Linked DNA regions of Homo sapiens: all the other regions are linked to region 1. Evidence: promoter capture Hi-C in 16 types of primary human blood cells and fetal thymus (Javierre and others, 2016). All regions are on one chromosome and are shown on one strand. Each heading gives the region's core, a stretch centred on a gene start or on the middle of the fragment in contact. The rest is flanking DNA. Distances are from core to core; before and after follow the strand shown. Region 1 holds the start of S100A2 (S100 calcium binding protein A2). Region 2 holds the start of GATAD2B (GATA zinc finger domain containing 2B). Region 3 holds the start of CREB3L4 (cAMP responsive element binding protein 3 like 4).

The links. Contacts are between HindIII fragments. The CHiCAGO score rates a contact against its expected background, and 5 or more counts as called.
Region 2: a contact is called between the fragment with the promoter of GATAD2B here and the fragment with the promoter of S100A2 in region 1, in 3 of 17 cell types (neutrophils, naive B cells and erythroblasts). The highest score is 6.8, in neutrophils.
Region 3: a contact is called between the fragment with the promoter of CREB3L4 here and the fragment with the promoter of S100A2 in region 1, in 7 of 17 cell types (total B cells, erythroblasts, monocytes and 4 more). The highest score is 6.4, in total B cells.

What each region holds. Positions count from the first base shown.
Region 1 is chr1:153,564,427-153,567,126 of GRCh38, reverse strand. S100A2 (S100 calcium binding protein A2) reads left to right here and starts at 1,283. Exons shown (of 3, transcript NM_005978.4): 1 at 1,283-1,621. RefSeq lists enhancers at 122-361, 59-1,258, 1,232-1,291, 1,411-2,168, 2,169-2,700. The HindIII fragment of the contact is 6,475 bases long and covers 1-2,700 here.
Region 2 is chr1:153,921,592-153,924,291 of GRCh38, reverse strand. GATAD2B (GATA zinc finger domain containing 2B) reads left to right here and starts at 1,320. Exons shown (of 11, transcript NM_020699.4): 1 at 1,320-1,559. It overlaps LOC101928059 (a long non-coding RNA gene), which reads right to left and starts at 919. Exons shown (of 4, transcript XR_922160.3): 1 at 330-919. RefSeq lists silencers at 245-539, 1,217-1,536 and an enhancer at 847-1,086. The HindIII fragment of the contact is 8,959 bases long and covers 1-2,700 here.
Region 3 is chr1:153,966,452-153,969,151 of GRCh38, reverse strand. CREB3L4 (cAMP responsive element binding protein 3 like 4) reads right to left here and starts at 1,250. Exons shown (of 10, transcript NM_001255978.2): 1 at 988-1,250; 2 at 453-630; 3 at 1-222. The coding sequence starts at 626. It also overlaps a transcript of SLC39A1 not described here. RefSeq lists enhancers at 984-1,103, 1,134-1,243, 1,454-1,673, 1,108-1,964 and a silencer at 992-1,493. The HindIII fragment of the contact is 4,469 bases long and covers 189-2,700 here.

The DNA of each region.
Region 1 (2,700 bases), core at 34-2,533:
CCTCACCCTCAGTGTGAAGGGTTTTTATTCCGAGTTCTACTTGAAGTAGGCCTCGATGGGAAGACAAGTAGCATGAGGGGTTCAAGTACTGAGGGGAGCAAGGGACACTCGGTGGCTGTGCCAAGGTGTAGAAGAGGACACTGGGGGCCCCAAGGCCTGACTTCATGTACACTGCTCAGGCTGGCCCCCAAGTCACACGGTGACCGCTAGGAAGGGACCAGCCTGTTCTCAGTCTGATCCTCCTGCCATGTCATTATCCAAAGCTCCTCCTGGCAGGGCCTGTTTGGGGTCTCTGTGCCAGTGCTTTCCCTGCCAGGCTGGGCTGGGGCTTCCACCTACTGCTCTGGGACTGCTGCTGCCCTGGCCCTGGGGGAGGAGGGTGTGCCGCTGAGTCACTGCCTGGGCATCTGGGCCTGGAACCTCGGGTGAGTCACTTAGGGCTGAGGTAGAGGGGCTGGGGGAGGGGAAGAAGCTACTCGACAGCTGGAGCAGGGAGGGGAGCTGGGGCCACAGGAAGGGCGGTGCCCTGATGCCCAGACGGGCCGGGATAGACAAAGGGCCAAGGAGGAAGGGGCCCTGGGAGGGGGCAGCCCTCCCTTGGGCTGGGCTCTGAATGGCCACAGTGTTTGCCTTTCTCCGGGTCTGGGGAGGACATGTGTGTGGGGGGCAGTGAGAGAGGGCTGTGGCTGAGGGCTGTGCTTCAGGCCTGGATTCTGGCTTGGGAAGCTGTCCAGCTGGTGTTTTCAGCCTTGGGTAGGGATGTACCCCTACCCACCCACCCAGCCCTCAAGCTGGAGAAGAGGAGGCCAAAGTTTTCCTGTTCAGCCTTTAACTACTCGGGACTTCCTTATGCTCCCCACAGACTGTGGCCCAGCCCAACTGCGGCTGTGTGTAGAGCAACCCCATTTCTCACTGCTTCCCCATCCTTCCAGACACCTTCCTACACAGAGGGACCTTCCCAGGTATTTCTAAGCACACTTAGTTACCTCATTACCTCATTAAGAGGTATTCTGGTGCTGGCCATTAAAAGTCACTCCACTTCATCCATGCCCTGAAGTCAGTCCTGTCCTTCTCCTCCTGATGTCCCCCAGCTGCCTCCTCTGGCCCCCAGCTTCCTAAGGGTGGCCCCAGGTTGCTTCTCTCTCACACACACGGGCGCATGTATGTACACGAGCACTGGACCATGAAGTCTCAGCGTGTGCTCACAGCCTCTCACACAGGAGTGGGCTGTGACTCACAGGCATGTCATGAGAATGAGGCCTGGCACCAGTCTCCAGGCCCCAGAGCAGGGGTTGCCTCCCCTCACCCCGGTCCAGGATGCCCAGTCCCCACGACACCTCCCACTTCCCACTGTGGCCTGGGTGGGCTCAGGGGCTGCCCTTGACCTGGCCTAGAGCCCTCCCCCAGCTGGTGGTGGAGCTGGCACTCTCTGGGAGGGAGGGGGCTGGGAGGGAATGAGTGGGAATGGCAAGAGGCCAGGGTTTGGTGGGATCAGGTTGAGGCAGGTTTGGTTTCCTTAAAATGCCAAGTTGGGGGCCAGTGGGGCCCACATATAAATCCTCACCCTGGGAGCCTGGCTGCCTTGCTCTCCTTCCTGGGTCTGTCTCTGCCACCTGGTCTGGTGAGTACCTCTGTCCTGCTGAGGGCAGGGTGGGGAGGATCCCCGTGGGTCTCTGTCTTTGTCTCCACAGTTCTCTCATTCCAGCTTCCCTGGTGGGATCAACCTGGGCCTCTCTGGGCCTTCCCCCTTGGAAGAACTCTCTGTGAAGTGCTGAAGTGTTGACTGAAGGGTTTTTTTTTTTTTTTTTTTTTTTTGAGATGGAGTCTCGCTCTGTCGCCCAGGCTGGAGTACAGTGGTGTGATCTCAGCTCACTGCAAACTCCCCCTCCCAGGTTCACGCCATTCTCCTGCCTCAGCCTCCCGAGTAGCTGGGACTGCAGGCGCCCACCACCATGCCCGGCTAATTTTTTTGTATTTTTAGTAGAGATGGGGTTTCACCATGTTAGCCAGGATGGTCTCGATCTCCTGATCTCGTGATCCACCCATCTCGGCCTCCCAAAGTGCTGGGATTACAGGAGTAAGCCACCGCGCCCGGCCGACTGAAGGGTTTTTCTCCAGGTTCCTCTGTGAGGTCTCAGTGCAGGGGTTGCTCTGAGGCCCTCCCCTGGATATCTCAGTCTAGGGGCCCTTCTTTGGGGGTCTAGGCCTAGGAGCAGGAGGTGTGCATGTGGGCGTTGCTGCAAAAAGAATCCTGAGATTTTTTTTTTTTTTTGCAAAGTCCTGGATTCTAGCAGGACTAAGGTGCAAGAGGCAGGGGTCTCAAGACTCTGCCTGGGTCATGGCCCCAAGCAGCAAAGCTCTGCCCCCTGCCTCGGTGAAGGCAGGGCTGGCATGATGGGCCCAGGGCATGCCCTGCCTCTGGCATAGCTCCTCTGGCCTCACCCTGAAACCTGCCTAACCTTTCCAGGCTGGTCTGAGTATTCTCAGAGGCCTTGCCGCTGAGGTCTGTCCCATCCTGATCCCAAGGCAATGAACATTTCATATCTTTAATTCTAATTCCAACAGGATCCTTCCTGGTGGAGAGAATGTTAAGTTGCCCCCACCCTATCCATGCCCCTGTCTGCCTAGAGGCTCAGGGGCCTTCAGGGTGAGGGGAGACACATTCCCCACCCTCTGGGAGCTCCTAGTCTGAGAGAGGAA
Region 2 (2,700 bases), core at 71-2,570, 360 kb before region 1:
TACTCGGGAGGCTGTTGAGGCAGGAGGATCGTTTGAACCTGGGAGGCGGAGGTTGCAGGAACTGAGATTGTACCACTGCACTCCAGCCTGGGAGACACAGTGAGAAAACAACAATAACAAAATGCCTGTGGAACCAGTTGTTTCTGGGTTTAAACCACTGCTTAGTCACTAACTAGCGGTCTGACCTTTGGCAAGTTACTTAACCTCTCTGAGCCTTAGTTTCCTCATCTACTTGGGTTCAAATTTCAGCTCTACCACTTAACGTGTAACTGGACAAATTTTTTGATCCTAATTTTCCTCATTTGTAAAGTAGGGATAACAGTACCTACCTCACAGTCATGAGGAATAAATACTTCATGTAAAGTTCTTAGCACAGAGCCTGACACAGTCTCTTTCCAAAAACGTTAACTACTATCATAACCTTAACACCCGGACTCTGTTACTTGGTCCCTATCCTCAAGGTGCTCCAGAAACGCTCGCTGAGTTTAGGCGGGCCTAACTGCTCCGTGGAAGCAGGGAGGCCAGCAAAAGGAGCTGGCCCTTGAGTTAATTAGGTGGAATCGGGCGGGGTGGGAGGCTGTTTCCTCGCTGAGAACCTAACCAGACCAGGAGTTCCCAAGAGAAGGAGCTGCGAGGGCTCTGCACACCGTAATTCCTCAGCAACTTGGCTAGCTGCTTTTTTTTTTTTCCTGCTGTCGTGGTTTAGTCACGACAGGACCAAGCGGAGGTACGATGAACACCAGGAAGCTCAAAGCCTTTGGCAGACGGAGACAGGCCACACCCCAAAAAGACGGCAAGGCTCAAGCGCCTAAAGCTAGTTCTATCGTGAAATTTCCTAGAGTCTGTCGCGACGAAACACCGCCCACCGCAGACCCCATCGCCGTTCGCCAGTCTCCATCTTTAGAATTGAAAGAATGAGAGATGGCCAAAGGGGAATCCCGGTTTGGAGAGACTGGGGTACGGCGGCTGCCTGGGGACCAAAACGTCTCTAAGGTAAAGTTGCAGCCTGAAGCGATTTTTTGACCCCCGACACTTAATGGGCTGTCGAAGACCCGGATGTGTCTGGGACTGGCAGAGGTACCCATTAACGCGCCCCCGCTAGACCATCCCCCCTCCTCCGTTTATGATTGGGTTTTAAGCACGCCAATCATCACTTCTCCGGCCACTCATTCTTCAAGGGTGGGGTGAAGTCCCGGCATCTAGTCTTCTACTGGCATGGCCGAGAAGATGAGGGCGGGGTGGCCGGCTTAGGTCGCCCAATGGGCGTCGTGGCGTGTGGGTAAGGCGGAGCCGAGGCGCTTGGCAGCTGCCCAATCAGCGTCCTTGTTTGTGTGGTGCCGCCGCCGCCGGTGCAGCCGTCGCCGCCGCCGCTGCCCCCGTCTGTACCGCAGTGTCTGCTCCGCCCGCCCGCCCCGGTCCGGCCCGCCCCCCTCCCCTACCCCCGTCCCTAGTCCCGTCAGCAGGGTCTGGATCCCCTGTGCCGTCGCCTCTTCCTTTTTCGACGCCTCCGCCGCCGCCTGAGGAGGCGAGCTAGCCGGGAGTTACACCGCCACCGCCAGGTGAGGAGCTTTGGCCTAGGCCAGCCTGGCCGCCCGCCCGCCCGGGGGCGGTGAGGAGCGAGGAAGGGAAGGAGGCTGGGAGGAGGCAGTGGTGGCGGAGGTGGGGGAAGGGAAAGGTGGAGGGGCGGGGGGAGGGGAAGCGCCCGCGAGCCGACGCCCGCCCGCGCGCCCCCGCCTTGCGTCCCCCTCCCCCCACCCCGGCACGGCGCGCCCCCGCCTCGCGCTCCTTCTTCACCTCATCCTCTCCCCCCTTGGCGCGCGCGACCCGGTCTTTCACTTCGGCCTCGCGCGCCCCCAGCTCGTGTCCCTTCATTTCGTCTCCTTGTACTCTTTCTCCCCTCCCTCACGCCCCGTTTCCCCCGCCATCCCCGCTTTCACTCCCTGCCTCATGCCCGCCATGCTCCCCTCCTTTCCTCTCTAGCGCGCCCCCCCCTTTTTTTTTTTAACTCTCTCCACCCCCAGTGGTGCCCTCAGGGTGCGGGGGCCGCTCCCTGCTCAGTCTTGTGTTTGCGGGCGGATGGGACGAATGGGGAATCTAAGGGTAAAGGAAGCACCAGATAATTATCTTTATTTAGGGAAAGGGATCAGGAGCGCATAACCTTACCCCTTTATTTCGTCGTCCACCGTTCGCTCGCCCTCCCGTAGGGGAAGAGAATTGTCTCAGGCTATGTGGGCACTTAGCTTCTACAGCGACTGGGCTTGTGGGACACACTGGATCTGTCTTCCAGTTCAGTTCCTGAGGGTCGGTGGAACTTACCCTTCCCTAACCACACCGGGACTTAGAGTACTTTTGGCCTCCCTGCTCTCAATTACATTGAGGAGCGAGCCACTCATGCGAGTGCAGAGGTTCAGGTGCCATTCGCGCGCCCGGTACAGCTTTCCCGTTTCATAAAGGTATGGTAGCCTCTTTGGATTCTTCCCCAGCATCAACTTCCAAACACAAGATGTTAGCTCATAGGGCTGGCAGTGAGGTGGAGATGGAGGCTTGGTGGTGGGTGGCATGTGGATGCTAACTGAGCTAGCTAGCAACCTTTTCTCTGTTGTCCCCTGGAAAATCAGGTAGCCTCCTGAGAACCAGTTTTCTCATTTCTGATAAATGCTTATTTGGGGGGCGTGTGTGTGTGCGTGTGTGTGTGTGTAA
Region 3 (2,700 bases), core at 1-2,500, 400 kb before region 1:
ATTTGGCCCAGTTTCCCCCTGCATCCTCTCCAGGGCCCCTGCCTCATAGACAACCTCATAGAGCATAGGAGAACTGGTTGCCCTGGGGGCAGGGGGACTGTCTGGATGGCAGGGGTCCTCAGAGATGCCACTGTCACTGCCAGGAGATGCTTCTGAGCAGTACACCTCATTGGGATCAATGAAAAGCTTCAAGAAATCTTCAGGCTCACTCTCTTGAAGGCCCTACAGTAGGAAAAGGTTATATATATGTGCAGGGAAGAATTTTGGAAGTCCTCCCTGACTTATGCTTCATTTTCAGTCCTTTCACTTCTTGGGCATGGAGACAGTTATTATACAACTTACGTCTATTTTGGGGGTGGTCTGTTTTCAGACCTGTCTCCAAGTGGGAGCTGAAGCCTCTTATCACAGAGTTGTGTCTCAACCCCACCCCCACTCCCACTCGTCACACTCACACAGCCACGGTCCCCACCGGACTTCCAGCCTTGCAGTCCCTGTTCCTGTAGCCTAGTTACCGGAACCTCTGGAGGGGGGCAGTGGAGTCCCAGCTCCAGGACGGATCCTGTCGAGAAGATATCCTCTGGGGGCTCCAGCCACGCGTCCAGCAGGTCAGGGATTCCGAGATCCATGCTTCTGCAGGAAGGCGTGTGGGACGGAGGGTTGCAGAAACGGAATGATGGCTGCTTACTACCCCCTACAGTTTCTGGGCTCCTCTGCTCCCTTTTCCATTATCCCCGCCCCCCCACTCCTTCCTCACTAGCAAGCCCCCTCACCTGTCCCCTCGATATTTCACCTTCAGCCCTATCCCTCAGGTTTAGACAAAGAGGCCCCCCCCAAGCATTACCTGTTCTGAAGAGCCCAGCCCTGTCAAGCCAGCATAGCCCGTTGACCTCCCCAAACACTACACCTTTTCTTTCTTCCAGGATCTCGTATCCTGGACCTGCCAGCCAAACCCCGCCCCCAGCCTTACACTACAAAAGTGGATGCCACCTTGCCAGGAGCCACGGTAGGGCCGCTGTATCTGGGAGTAGGGGACTAAGAGTCTGAGGGTCCACAAACGGAATTTAAGAAGTAGGTAGCCGCGCCCTTTCTGCTGCAGTTTTCTCTTAGCTATAGTAAATCTTCCTGAGGGTTTGGTGTCTCCTAGCTGAAGAACAGAAAAGGCTGTGACTGGAGCACAGGACTCCTGAATGCCTGTTCTGTAGCCCTCGCTTTTGCAAGAGGGAGATCATGGCAGGGTTGTAAACAAAGGCGGAAAGAGTCAAGAGACCTGCGAATTTACTAGGGCATCCCCTCGCCCACCGCGTGGCGCTCTTCCCAAAGCTGAGTCCTGATTGGAAGCTGAAGACTTAGGTTTCGGAGGGGCAGGACATCGAGCCAATGGCACACTACCCTCTCAAGGCCGCCTCTTCCGTAACTGGTCGGAGACAGTTTGGCTGTTCAGGAGAGTCAGGCCAATGGGGCCGCAGTTCTTTCTTTTTTTTTTCTTTATTCTTATTTTTGGAGACAGGGTCTCGCTCTGTTGCCCAGGCTGGAGTGCGGTGGTGCGATCACGGTTCCATGCAGCCCCCGACCTCCCGGGCTCAGGTGATTCTCCCGCCTCAGCACCGCGAGCAGCTAGGACCACAGGCGCGAGCCACTGCGTCCGGCCGGCGGGACTTATTTGTCAGGCGGGGATTGGGTTCCGCCAGCCTAAAGGGAGGGGTAAGCGCCAGAATATGAATCGCCGGGAAGCTGGGAGAAAGCTCCGGGAAACCCTGAGCAGCCAGGTTTGTCTTCGCGCGCCACGTGACTCGGAAGCTCCGGTTTCACCCAGGCGGGGAGTCAACAGCCCGCTGACCCCAGTGGAGCGGTGATCCTCGCTCGGCAGGCGGCAGGAGCGCGATGGCGGGTTTCCCCGTCCGCAAGCCGAGCAGTGTGGCGTTAATGGAGAACAGCAGCTGTGCGCACACGCTCGCTGCACGCTGCTCATTCACGGAGGGACACGGGGCAGGAAAACTGCAACAAGTTAAAAAGCCTTTTGCGTTTGTTGTCTTATTGTTTGCATACAGTTACCGGGAACATTATGTCCCACACTTGTATAATTTACAAAACGTTTTCATAAAAATTGTTCTCTTCCTTAATCCATAACAGTTCTGAGGCACACACGGCGGGTAATATTTTGCAAATTTTACCTATGAGGAGGCAGATCCATGACTAGAAAGTAGTAATACCAAAACTCAGGGTTGATTGATTATTTTTATTTTTTTGCCTTGGTCTAATGTCTGATGGTCCAGGAATTCACTTCAAGTAAAACAATGGAGGTAAACTGATACAGGTATGGTTTTCAGTAGTATTTCAGAAAAGGGTAGCTGGGTGAGTAAAACAGTAGTTTGGAGTGTGAATCCCAGAACTCAAACTGCTACTAATTATCCTTATGAAGATTTGAACGGGCTAAGGGTAAAAACGGGAACAGGGTCTAGTCAGGCATTTCCATGTTACTCATATAATTCTTACAGCAGATGGAGCTGACAAGTTTGTTTGTTTGTTTTTCTTTTGCTCTGTGGCCCAGGCTGGAGTGCAGAGGCTCGATCTCGGCTCACTGCAAGCTCCGCCTCCCGGGTTCACGCCATTCTCCTGCCTCAGCCTCCCTAGTAGCTGGGACTACAGGCGCCCAGCTAATTTTTTTGTATTTTTAGTAGAGACAGGGTTTCACCGTGTTAG